Regions from separate parts of the Homo sapiens genome. Here region 2 is linked to region 1. The links are contacts of gene promoters, found by promoter capture Hi-C in human tissues and cell types (Jung and others, 2019). All regions are on one chromosome and are shown on one strand. Each heading gives the region's core, a stretch centred on a gene start or on the middle of the fragment in contact. The rest is flanking DNA. Distances are from core to core; before and after follow the strand shown. Region 1 holds the start of TMEM42 (transmembrane protein 42). Region 2 overlaps KIF15 (kinesin family member 15).

Evidence for each region. The method cuts DNA at HindIII sites, captures the fragments that hold promoters and counts their contacts. A contact is called where the count stands out against the background at its distance.
Region 2: a fragment that was not itself captured here is called in contact with the fragment with the promoter of TMEM42 in region 1 in 3 of the 25 tissues and cell types used here (bladder, hippocampus and mesenchymal stem cells).

The regions. Positions count from the first base shown.
Region 1 is chr3:44,857,549-44,864,264 of GRCh38, reverse strand. TMEM42 (transmembrane protein 42) reads right to left here and starts at 2,353. Exons shown (of 3, transcript NM_144638.3): 1 at 2,149-2,353; 2 at 1-68. The coding sequence starts at 2,340. MIR564 (microRNA 564) reads right to left here and starts at 2,377; the gene lies at 2,284-2,377. It also overlaps a transcript of KIF15 not described here. RefSeq lists silencers at 1,844-1,893, 2,224-2,273 and an enhancer at 2,304-2,893. The HindIII fragment of the contact is 28,079 bases long and covers 1-6,716 here.
Region 2 is chr3:44,792,871-44,799,586 of GRCh38, reverse strand. It overlaps KIF15 (kinesin family member 15), which reads right to left. Exons shown (of 35, transcript NM_020242.3): 8 at 5,161-5,370; 9 at 1,911-2,036; 10 at 1,631-1,753. Among named protein-coding and RNA genes, the nearest start is that of KIF15, 34 kb to the right of the region's middle. The HindIII fragment of the contact is 3,726 bases long and covers 816-4,541 here.

The DNA.
Region 1 (6,716 bases), core at 1,104-3,603:
AAGGTCCACATCAGAGAATTGGTGCTCGCCATCACAATAATGCCTAAGACGCATAAACCCATGCTCACCTGCAGGAGAAAGTGTCACTGCAGCCACGTCCACCCTGGGCAGCAACCTGCAGACCCCCTCAAAGCACACCCAGGACTGTGGTTGCTGGCACCCAGGCTCCTACTGAGCTCCCACTACAGCTCAGAGGGCCTCAGAGCTTTCCTGCACAGGGCTTCACTTAACCCTCAGTGGGCAGCAGACCCATCTTACAAATAAAGCAAATTCAGAGAAGATACTCATTTGGCCACCTTGCTGGCCATATGATCTTGGGAAGAAGCAAAATGCTAATCCAAAGCCAGTATTTTCTACTGAACACCGGCCCCTTATTGGTCCCACAATGACCAGTGCTTGAAGATCAGTCCCAGAGGGCCAAGTAGTTCTTACTCCGTAGGTAGTAAGCCTAGGGTAGAGTTCTTATTTCTTGAGATCAGGCAAAGCATGAATTAGCAATGTCTGCTCTGTATTCCCACCCCCAAATCCTATACAAGTTACAGCCCACTAAGGCTGACCCCCTCTGGGTATTCTTGAGCTTTTACTCTGTGTTAGGTCCTGGGCTGTGTTTAAGCATTCTCATTTATTCCTTAACTTCATTTTACAGATAAAGAGCCAGGGGCATTAAGTAACCTTCCTAAAGTGCTACAGCGGTGAGAGCCACCAGGCTTCACAAGCAGGCAGTGTACCTCCATGCTCTTAACTAGGGCACAGCCTTGCCTGAGGGAAACACCACCTCAGACTATTTAGTGATCCCAGACATCCCTTGGAGAACTTGCAGGTATTTTCTTTCTTTTTTTTTAAAGGAGAAAGTCTCAAGAGAAGAGAAGATCTTTAGAAGCCTCCTACACAAAGGATATGCAGTCCCCCTTGCTTGGTGGTGAGTTAGAAACCTGCCTGGAGACAAGGCGGCGGGGGGGGGGGGTGCGGAATCTAAATATACTTATTACTTGTAATGGTTTCTCAGCAGCTGAACACATAGTGTCTTGAGAAAAAGGTGCTTGCTTATAACTTACACCAGGGTGTTCAATTTTTTGGCTTCCCTGGGCCACACTGGAAGAACTGTCTTGGGTCACACATATAATACACTAACACTAATGATATATGATGAGCTAAAAAAAAAATAATAAATCGCAAAAAAATTCATGTTTTAAATTTGCAAATTTGCGTTGGGCCGCGAGTTGGACAACCTTGTCTTACACAAAGCAGCATATGGGCCAGTGGCAACCTGCTTAAAGGGTTATGAAGGTCTAGTTCCTGACAACAAACTTCACGGCCCATACAAAGTTATTCATTTTACTTTCGACCACTTACCCCATGAACTACACCCAATGGGATACTAACCTGAAGCATGGCAGCTACTACTGGATTAGCCCTAAATAGGCTTAACCCTAAATAATCAGTGACCACTGTCCAGGTCAGAGGCTAACCTTGGGCTGCAGACGCAATGAAACCCCTATAGCAAGCAGAGGCTGGTCTACGACGTGGGAGGGAGAGGCAGAGATACACCTTAGCAGACGCCAGGATGCAAGTTTAGGAGTTCTCAGCGTCAGGAAAACATCCAGAACGTCTCTGTCAGTATCCTCTTATGCCTACAGTATCCCAAACTCCCAATTTTCCTGGTAGTGGGGCAGACTGGTCATCTGGTCACAACACCCGTTAATTACGGAGTAAAGGGATGGGCAAGAGGCTTCTCACCTTAAGAGTCACGTGGAGAGAAATGCTCAGGCACAAGGGACTTAAAATGAGAGGTAGAGGGTGGATGTAGGAGGTGTAGTTCTTCCCCGAGAGCGAACTAGCCCAACCGGAGAAAAGGTTTTAGGTCCCTGGTAAGGGAAGAGGCCTCAGTCCCCGACGTCTCTTACCACCTACACTGGACGAGGGTTTGGCGTGATTAGAGGCGAAACACTCTCTGCCACCCCAGCTGACCGCAGCGCCGCCCGCGGCCCGGGGCCCCGGCGGGACAGACCGGCGAGGGTGCGGCGGCGCCCTGCGCCCACCCCCGCCCCACCCCAAGAGCCCCGCGGGCCCCGCAGCGCCCCTCCTCCGCCCAGCGGCGCCCCGCCCGCCCGCCCGCAGCAGCAGCACCAACAGCGCCCCGGGCTCGACCTCGCTGCCGAAGGCCAGCTTGGCGGAGGCGGCGGCCAGGGCCCCGAACGCGCCGGCGCACAGACAGTTGAATACGCCCCAAAAGCGGCGCCGCATCGCACCCGCCTGGAGGTGCGGAGGGAATTCCGCGGGGGTGTCAGGGTACGCGGTCGCGGACACGGCGCCGCCCGGAGGCCCCGGCCTCTCGGCCATGTTGCCTGCTGACACCGTGCCTGGCACCCGCTGCCCGCAGGGCAGAGCGCGCGCCGCGATTGGATGGCAGCCTCACGTGACGCGACGCTCCTGTGACGCCACGCTCCGGCAGGCCCCTTGGGAATCGCTCTCCGGCGCCTCGGAGGGGGCGGGCCAGGTGGCAGAGACCCTGGGCTGTGGCGGCCTCCGGCCTAACCTGTAGTAGGTTTGTGCTCTGGGGAGGACGTCGGGACCCGAGGCCTGAGGCCAAGCCGGGTACTGTGGACGCTGTGGTAGAAGGTAAACTTCTCGCGGCTTAGCCGTCTCCATCCCGGCCACCCGGCTCCCGGTGAAACTTATTAAAGATGCCTAACGGGCCCCGCGCCGGCCCACCGAGTCCATCCACGTCGACCAGGCTTCTCCGCTCCACCCTCCAGCCTGAGGACCGCCGGACCAAGAGATGCCTCGGCAGAGGGCGCTGGGGACCTCCAGACCCAGAAAGACGCCAGAGCCCCATATGGGGACAAGCGCATCACAGAAAACCGAAAAAATGAGGATCTGCGATGAGAGGAAGACAATGATCCATAATCAAGCCACGCAGAATCAACATGACTTCTAATCTCCTGTTATACTTACGTATGTTTAGAATGTTTCCGGCTGGGCGTGGTGGCTCATGCCTGTAATCCCAGCACTTTGGGAGGCCGAGGCGGGTGGATCACCTGAGGTCGGGAGTTCGAGACCAGCCTGACCAACATAGAGAAACCCCGTCTCTACTAAAAATACAAAATTAGCCGGGCGTGGTGGTGCATGCCTGTAATCCCAGCTACTCGGGAGGCCGAGGCAGGAGAAGCGCTTGAACCTGGGAGGTGAAGGTTGTGGTGAGCTGAGATCATGCCATTGCACTCCAGCCTGGCCAACAAGAGTGAACTCCGTCTCAAAAAATAAAAATAAAAATAAAATGTTCCCATTTAAAAAGTACACGTCCTTGAAAATAAAGTGTTGAAATGTATAAAGTGCTATTTCCACTCTCCAGGAAAATCAGTGTTAATAGAGCATTTTTCTATATGTCTATTTAGTTATATATAGTTAAAATGTTAAAAAAATTATAGAATATGTATATGCATTTTTTAAACAAAAATGATTTCACAGTTGAACATACTGTTTAGCAGCATTCTTTTTGTATCTTCTGTTTAGCAAGTTTTTATGGAAGTCCTTCCACACCATGCTGCTTCTCTCACAGGGTGGTTTTGTGGCTCAAATAAAAGCACGGATAAGGCCAGGCACGGTGGCTCACGCCTGTAATCCCAGCACTTTGGGAGGCCAAAGGTGGGTGGATTACGAGGTCAGGAGTTCAAGACCAGATTGGTCAAGATGGTGAAACTCCATCTCTACTAAAAATACAAAAAAAATTAGCTGGGTGTGGTGGCGGGCACCTGTATTCCCAGCTACTTGGGAAGCTGAGGCAGAGAATTGTTTGAACCCAGGAGGCAGAGGTTGCAGTGAGCCGAAATTGCACCACTGCCCTCCAGCCTGGGTGACAGAGTAAGGCTCTGTCTCAAAAAAAAACACGGATAATTTCAGTAACGCCAATATGGTACAAACTGTCCCATTTTGCAGATGAGGAAATTGAGGCTCAGAGGTCTCACTGCACCACTCCATTGAGTAAGGAGCTGCTCAAAGATGATACCCTCTGAAAGCTCTTATCAGGAAATCAAGAGGTGTTGCATTGATCAACTCTGCATGCTTTAAAGAATGTAAAGCAAATTTTCTTAGAACAAACGATGCCTCTACTAGCACTAAAGGTTAAGCATCTCAGAGCCACCTCCTCTGTAAAGCCGTCTCTGCTACTCCCCTACCTTTGTACCAGTCCTGTGGTTGTTCCTCTGGTTGTCTGTTTCTCTGCTAGCCTGCAAGCTCCTTGAGGGCAGGGACTACATCGTTGTTAATCTCCAGGTCCCCAGCCCTGGTGATGATGGCTGAAGTGATGCCATCCTCAGACACTGCTGGGAAGTGATTTCTGCCTCTAAGAAACTCCTGTGTACACACATCACCTAGGGATCTTGCTAAGATGAAGATTCTCATTAGGTCTAGAGCTAGACTGAATTTTGTTTGTTTTTAGAGGGAGACAGAGTCTCTCTGTCACCCAGGCTAGAGTGCAATGGTGTAATCATGGCTCACTTCAGCCTTGAGCTCCCAGGCTGAAGCCATCCTCTCAGCTCAGCCTCCTGAGTAACTAAGACTACAGGCAGGTACCATCAAGCCCAGATTATATATATATGTATTTTTTGAGACAGGGTCCTGCTCTGTCTGCCAGGCTGGAGTACAGTGGTGGATCATAGCTCACTGCAGCCTCAACCTGCTGGGCTCAAGTGATTCTCCCACTTCAGCTTCCTGAGTAGCAGGGACTATGGGTGCATCATGCCTGGCTAATTTTTGTATTTTTTGTATAGACAGGATTTTGACATGTGGCCCAGGCTGGTCTTGAACCCCTGGGCCCAAGTGATCCACCCACCTTGGCCTCCCAAAGTGCTGGGATTACGGACATGAGCCACCGCACCCAAGCCGCCAGCTCCAAAAATTAGATTCCAGCCCTCAAAACCCACAACAGGACCTAATTAACCTCGCCTTCAAGGTGTACAATAATAGAGTAAAGGCAGCCAAGTAGCAATGTTTTTCTGAGTTGCAATTAGTTGCCTCCACTGTGAGAGAAACCCCAGCCACATCTCCAGCACACAAGAACTTCAAAACGTCTGAACCGCAGTGGCCAGGCTTTCCTCCAGGACCGCCTCCCACAGGAGCTTGCTTAAAGTGCCATAAATCTGGCCACTGGGCCAAGAAATGCCCACAGCCCTGGGATTCCTCCTAAGCCGTGTCCCAACTGTGCGGGACCCCACTGGAAATCAGACTGTCCAGCTTGCCCTGCAGCCACTCCCAGAGCCCCTGGAACTCTGGCCCGGGGCTCTCTGACTGACTCCTTCCCATATCTTCTCAGCTTAGCAGCTGAAGACTGATGCTGCCCGATCGCCTTGGAGGCCCCCTGGACCGTCACGGACACCGAGCTTCGGGTAACTTTTACAGTGGAGGATAAGTCCATCCCCTTCTTAATCAATACAGAGGCTACCAACTCCACATTATCTTCTTTTCAAGGGCCTGTTTCCCTTGCCTCCATAACTGTTGTGGGTATTGACGGCTAGGCTTCTAAACCTCTTAAAACTCCCCAACTCTGGTGCCAACTTGGACAACGTTCTTTAATGCACTCCTTTTTAGTTATCCCCACTTGCCCAGTTCCCTTATTAGGCTGAAATATTTAACCAAATTATCTGCTTCCCTGATTATTCCTGGACTACAGCCACATCTCATTGCCACCCTTCTTCCCAACCGAAAGCCTCCTTTGTGTCTTCCTCTCGTATCCCCCCCACCTTAACCCACAAGTATGGGACACCTCCACTCCCTCCCTGGCAACCCATCACACGCGCATTACTATCCCATTAAAACCTAATCACCCTTACCCTGCTCAATGCCAGTATCCCATCCCACAACAGGCTTTAAGGGGATTAAAGCCTGTTATCACTCGCCTGCTACAGCATGGGCTTCTAAAACCTATAAACTCTCCTTACAATTCTCCCATTTTACCTATTCAAAAACCGGACAAGTCTTACAGGTTAGTTCAGGATCTGCGCCTTATCAACCAAATTATTTTGCCTATCCACCCTGTAGTGCCCAACCTGTACACTCTTTAGTCCTCAATACCTTCCTCCACAACTCACTATTCCATTCTTGATCTTAAAGATGCTTTTTTCACTATTCCCCTACACCCCTCGTCCCAGCCTCTGCTTTTACCTGGACTGACCCTGACACCCATCAGTCCCAGCAGCTTACCTGGGCTGTACTGCCGCAAGGCTTCAGGGACAGCACTCATTACTTCAGCCAAGCTCTTTCTCTTGATTTACTTTCTTTCCACCCTTCTGCTTCTCACCTTATTCAATATATTGATGACCTTCTACTTTGTAGCCCCTCCTTTGAATCTTCTCAACAGGACACCCTCCTGCTCCTTCAACATTTATTCTCCAAGGGATATTGGGTATCCCCCTCCAAAGCTCAATTTCTTCTCCATCCGTTACCTACCTCGGCATAATTCTTCATAAAAACATACGTGCTCTCTCTGCCGATCATGTCTGACTGATCTCTCAAACCCCAACCCCTTCTACAAAACAACAACTCCTTTCCTTCCTGGACATGGTTGGATACTTTCGACTTTGGATACCTGGTTTTGCCATCCTAACAAAACCGTTAAATAAACTCACAAAAGGAAATCTAGCCGACCCTATAGATCCTAAATCTTTTCCCCACTCCTCTTTCCGTTCCTTGAAGACAGCTTTAGAGACTGCTCCTGCACT
Region 2 (6,716 bases), core at 1,429-3,928, 65 kb after region 1:
ACTCTATCTCAAAAAAAAAAAAAAAGTTGATTAATTAAAAAAATAAAGCTTTAAAAAGGTCCACAAAGCCTAAAGGGTGATAACGAGTGCCAACAGCTGAGTACCAACCAGGTCAGAGGACTCAGTTGTGAAATACTCAGTACTCCAGCAAGGAAAAAACACCCTGTGACAGCCCCAAGGTCTTCTGTATTCTCGCTGTAAGCCCAATTTGCTCACGGAAAAATTTAAATAGCACATCCTTAAACAAGTCCCAGATACTCTGGCACTTTCCACTGATAGGCTGCAAAGGGCTTACCATTGAGAGTGACTAGTAGAAGGCTCTTGGTTTTGTTCTTTTGTGTGTTAAGCAGCCATTTCCAGTTGCTTCTGATTCTTATGGCCAGCCTCATTACAAGGTACTACTGCACTTCTGACATCACTGTCCCATCAGTGACTTCATAATTCTAATTATTGCTGCAGTTCTATATCTCCAAAGACTTCTAGTAAATCTTAAGAGACTTAGGGTCAGGAAGCTCTAATGATTTTTCCTCCTCATCTTACTAGTACTCCATAGTCCAAGGAAATAAAATAAATGACTAGATCTATAGTCTTCTGATTTACCCAGGGAAAGGGGCAACATGGACCTCCTGATTTACAGCCAGTTGGTCTGAAAGCACAGATAGGACAAGCTGGGGCTTGCAATTGGCATCAGAAGTTGGGCGCAGTCTTGTAGGACTGAGCCCTGAACCTGTGAGATCTCACCCTATCTCCAGACATAAAGTGTCAGGATGGAACTGAATCAGAAGACACTCAGCTGATGTCTGCTGCAGAACTGATTGATTGGCTGTTGGCAGGAAGAAAGACTCACATACTTAATTTGCTTTCCCTTAAGAAAAAATTTGTCAGCTGGGTACAGTGGTTCACACCTGTAATCCCAGCACTTTGAAAGGATGAGGCAGGAGGACTGCTTGAACCTAGGAGTTTGAGACGAGCCTGGGCAACAAAGTGAGATCCTACCTGTACAAAAAATAAAAAAATTAAGGCCAAGGCAGACGGATCACGAGGTCAGGAGATCGAGATCATCCTGGCTAACACGGTGAAATCCCGTCTCTACTAAAAAATACAAAAAATTAGCCGGGCGTGGTGGTGGGCGCCTGTAGTCCCAGCTGAGCAGAGATCGCACCACTGCACTCTAGCCTGGGTGACAGAGCAAGACTCTGTCTCAAAAAAATAAATAAATAAAAAATAAATAAAATAAAAATTAAAAAAATAAAAAAATTAGCCTGGCATGGTGCTGCATGCCTGTAGTTCCAGCTACACAGGAGGCTGAGGCAGGAGGATCGCTTGAGCCCAGGAAGTTGAGGCTAGAGTGAGCTGTGTTTGCACCACTGCACTCCAGCCTGGGTGACACAGCAAGACTGTGTCTCAAAAAAAAAGAAAAAACTAGTCAAGCAATAACAACCATAAGATCTAACCTAGGTCTCTAATTACATGTGTGATATAGAAGGGTAGGAAAGATAAAATAGAAATTTTGCATACAATGAGAAATAAATAAAAGTTAATGTTAATATTAGGGCAATCACAAAAATGGCATACTGTAAGCTTTAGTATTTTTCTCATTTATTTAATGAAGTATACGCCAGTATTTTACCTTGTTTTTAATCAGCTTGGCTCTTTGAGCAAAGTTAAGTGTTGATAGGGTTTCCCCAAAACACCTGGATCCAGGATGAACATTTGCAATTATGGCTGTTTTGGCATTACCTCCAAGGGAATCCTGTTTAATGATAGGAATGAACATATTTTCGGTGAGAAATCACAAGACCTTTTTAAGCAAAGAAAATGTATACTCTTGCCACCAAGGCTGAGAGACTGTCCCACTATCAACTTTAGCATAACCAAAAGGAGCCCAGGAACCCAAGGATCTACTTTACCCGTAGTAAGAAGGTAAGTTTGGAGTCTCTGTAGCAAACATGTCTCTGTTTTCCATTACCCACGTCGACAAGTGCTGTAATCACTTGGCCCAGGCAGCTCAATGATCGATTTATGTTACCTGCTTCCTAAAGTGTTGACGGAAAAGAACAAAAATTTAGGTACGTTGGTTACTCTTTGGTATTTTGAATGAAAATATATCTAGCAGAGGAAAATTCTGGATGAAAAGGCAAGTCAGGGACAATGTTAATAAAGAACAACTATTCAACAAATAAAAAAGAAGTGCTGAACTATCCCTAACCTTTTCCTATTTGATGTACACTGTAATTTTAGTATTAGAAGACAAACACAGGCTGGCACTGTGGCTCATGCTAGTCATCCCAGCACTTTGGGAGGCCGAGGTGGGCAGGTTGCTTGAGCTCAGGAGTTGGATACCAGCCTGGGCAACATGGCAAAACCCCATCTCTACAAAGAAATACAAAAAACTGCTGGGCATGGTGGCACATGCCTGTAGTCCCAGCTACTTGGGAGGCTGAGGTGGGAGGATCACTTGAGCTTGGGAGGTGGAGGTTGCAGTGAGCTGAGATTGTGCCATTGCACTACAACCTGGGTGACAGAGTGAGACCCTCTCTCAAAAACAACAACAAAAAAAGACAAACACAAAAATCATGCAAAGAAAAAAAATATTAATGTCACTTCATGATTGTAATAGTTTGAAACCGAGCTATAAAGACCAGAAAAAAATAGGGAAAAAAAAGCTAGAGTAGTGCATTAATAGGTACTTTTTTCAATCCTTTTATGCTAAAATATTTAAGGGTATAATGCCTAATAACTCACCCATACAGCCCCCAAAGCCACTGATGAACTTATTTGAGGAGAATATTCAGTTTAATTCTGTAAAGGATAATAAAAACTACTTTAAAACAGAAGCTTGGTGGGGGGAAAAAATGAGCTAAATACGTTACATTAGATTTTTACTGTAGGTAGCATATTTTGAAAACTGGGTCTGCAGTGGAAGGAGTATACAAAAAAGAGAAAAAGTCAAAATTATAATGCAAGATGTACTGAATTCAGAGTCACTGCTGTTATCATTCAGTAAATCAGAAAGGTGGTTAGTGGCATGGTTGAGAGTACTGTAGCAGCTCGGTTTGAATCTCAGCTCTACCTTTATTAGCTGTGTGACTTCGGTTTCTTTAACTGTAAAATAGAAAGAATAGCACCTACTTCCCAGAGTTGTTGGGAAGGTTAAATGAATTAATATATGTAAAGCATTTTAGAACAGACTTGGTATATGTCCTATTATAAGCATATGCTTTTTTTGACACAGAGTCTCACTCTGTCACCCAGGTTGGAGCACAGTGGCACAATCACAGCTCACTGCAATCTCGACCTCCTGGGTTCGAGGGATCCTCCCACCTCAGCCTCCCAGGTGCTAGGATTACAGGCATAAGCCACCATGCTCAACCCATATGCTATATTTATTAAGCCTCATATCTCAATAGAAATATGAGCTTTAGGCTGGGCGTGGTGGCTAACGCCTGTAATCCCAACACTTTGGGAGGCCAAGGAGGGTGGATCACCTGAGGTCAGGAGTTCAAGACCAGCCTGGCCAAAATGGTGAAACCCCATCTCTATTAAAAATACAAAATATTAGCTGGGTGTGGTGGTGGGCGCCTGTAATCTCAGCTACTTGGGAGGCTGAGGCAGAAGAACTGCTTGAACCAGAGAGGCAGAGGTTGCAGTAAGCCGAGATCATGCCACTGCACTCCAGCTGGGTGACAGAGTGAGACTGTCTCAAAACAAAAAAATATGAGCTTCAGATTGCCTGAAACTGCCTCAAATGTAGGTCAGGCGACTCAAATCCTCACTTTTAATGAAAAAAGTAGATCTCTTCCCTCATCCTTTCCAATTCCTCTCCCCTTGCCCATGTATATTCTAAACTATAGACTCTACAAATATTTTATTGACAATTCGTATTACTATATATATATATATATAAACACATATTGACAATACATATTACATAGAACCTCTGGTCCCACTGTTGATACCTTAGCCTAGGACTAGATACTTAACCCTTCATACCTGAAATATTAAACAGCGTAAGTGGTCATCTTTTTCTGTGGGCTCTCCCTTCTAAAATCTTAACAGCAGTGGGTCAGATGACTAAGTTTCTATAAAACAGGCTTTCTTCATGAATCACTTAGTTGCTAAGAAATGTTAAGTGTTTCCCAGTATTCGCAGAGTTGATACAAACTTGGCCTGGCACTCCTGGTCCTTGATAATCCGGGCCTGCTTGCCTCTCTAACCAACCCATCCATTGAGCCATGCTGAAATGCCAAATGCTACACTCATTCTGCATCCACAATAACCCTTGAGATGCCCCCCTGCCAGGCATGCATTTCCTGTTTCTCTCTCCCTACCGAAATCCTTCACAAGTCAAGAACTACTTCTTTTCCACATGTTCCACAAGCAGTCCATATTGCACCCTTCTTCCTCTGACCCCTGTTGTCTCTTGTACCCTTATCCCCTCTGGTATGAATTAAAACATTTTTGCTACTGACAGACTTGCCCTATCCCATCTATGTTCACTGTTCCACAAAAGAAATCTCTGTTCCTTTTCAATAGGAACAATTTCTTATTTCTTTGCCACCCTCAAAACACTTAGCTTGGTATGGTCATATATCAGTTAACAACACGGATACATTTTTTTTTCTGAGACAGAGTCTCTCTCTGTCACCCAGACTGGCGTGCAGTGGCGCGATCTCAGCTCACTGCAACCTCGGCCTCCCAGGTTCAAGTGATTCTCCTGCCTCAGTCTCCCAAGTAGCTGGGACTACAGGCGCGCATCACCACGCCCAGCTGACTTTTGTATTTTTTTAGTAGAGACGGGATTTCACCACGTTGGCCAGGATGGTCTCGATCTCCTGACCTCGTGATCTACCTGCCTCAGCTTCCCAAAGTGCTGGGATTACAGGTGTGAGCCACCGCGCCCGGCTAACAGGGGTACATTTTAAGAAATGTGCTGTTAGGAAATTTGATTGTTTTGTGGGCATCATAGAATATACTTATGCAAACCGAGATGGTATAGCCTACAACATACCTAAGCCATGTGGTATAGCTATTATACTCTTAAGGGACCCCCATCATAAATGCAGTTCCTCATTGACTGAGACACTGTCATGCATCACGACTGTATTGACTGCTAGTAAGAACTCACACACAAGTTGAAGACCATAATTTCATTCTTACCTTCAATCTCATCCCTTCTGCATGGGTATCTTTTTGCCTTTCAGATCCTGCTAAATCCACCAGGTTGAGTAGGGAGGTCCGTATATTCACAATCTCATTACTTTTCTCCATTGACTCTATTGTAATTGTAAAGACGGCATGAGACCTAGACGATTCTCTGTTCATTGATGTTGATGCCACACGTCTATTCCTCCATCCTCCAGACAACACCTATGCAAAAGGAAAACATATTAAAAGAAATGAGAGGACCAGTTACAGTGGCTTATGCCTGTAATCCTAGCAGTTTGGGAGGCCATGTCTGGAGGATCACTTGTGGATAGGAATTCAAGACCAGCCTGACCTACATAGTGTGAGACCTCACCTCTACAAAAAATAATAATTTGCTATGTACAGTGGCAGGAACCTGTAGTCCTAGCTACTCGGGAGGCTGAGGTGGGAAGATCTCTTGAGCCCAGGAATTCAAGGCTGCAGTGAGCCATGATTGTGCCACTGCACTCCAGCCTGAGCAGCAGGGCAAGATCCTATCTTAAAAAAAAAAAAAAAAGGAAAAGAGAAAAAAAAAGGAACAAGAATAGGTACACTTAAAATGTAAAATAAGCACTTGAGAATCACTCATTTTATTATGAAAAATACTAACATACAGCTAATTATCTACTTTCATAGGGAAAAAGAAATATATTTACATAAAGCATATTTTCTATTTAGAACAGGGGTGAGGAGTATCTATTGCCTTCCATTGTTATCTAGCTTTATAAGATAAATTATATTATCCCAAGTTCCAAATGGTACACAACAGCCACCAAAATCAGTAGGAAATTTGTAAAGGGTGGTGAGAAAGATTACTGGTCCATTAAGGAATAAGCTGAAGTTATTTTCCTTTCCTTTGTGTTCCCTTTCCACATTACAGAAACAGAACAAACAGGAAATCAGAGCGCATAGGATCTAGAACTGGTTTTGCCACGCTTTATTTGTGTTAACCTAATGTAAATCACAAAACCTCTCTGAACCCATTTCTTTACCTAGAAAATGAGAATGTTGGACAGGAAAAATCTGTAAATTATCTTTAAGCCCAAAGTTTTGTAAGCTTTTGGTCTACAAAGTATTTTTTCCCTTCTATTCCCTATGGCAAGCAGGATACATGAAAGTTCAGAATGCAGGCTCTGGAATCAGATGCATATGAGTTCAAACCATGGCTCCACTATTTACTAGGCGAGGTCTGGGGCCAGCTGAACCTTTTCAAGCCTCAGCCTTCATATTTGTAAAATGGGAATATGGGTACCTATCCCATAGAACAGAACATATAAGTTTTAGGTGCATATGAATCATCTACAGATGTTGTTAAAATTCAGATTCAGATTCAGTGTGAGGTGGGGCCTGAGATTTTGCATTTCTAACAAGCTCTCAGGTGATGCTGATGTTCTGAGGACCACATTTTGGGTAGGAGGGTAACAGTATATATAGGGTAAAATGGGGAAATTAGTGTCTTTATCTCAAAGGGCATATTGAAAATTAAGTAAAATAATGTATACAAAAGAAGTTAGCACAGTGCTTGGCAC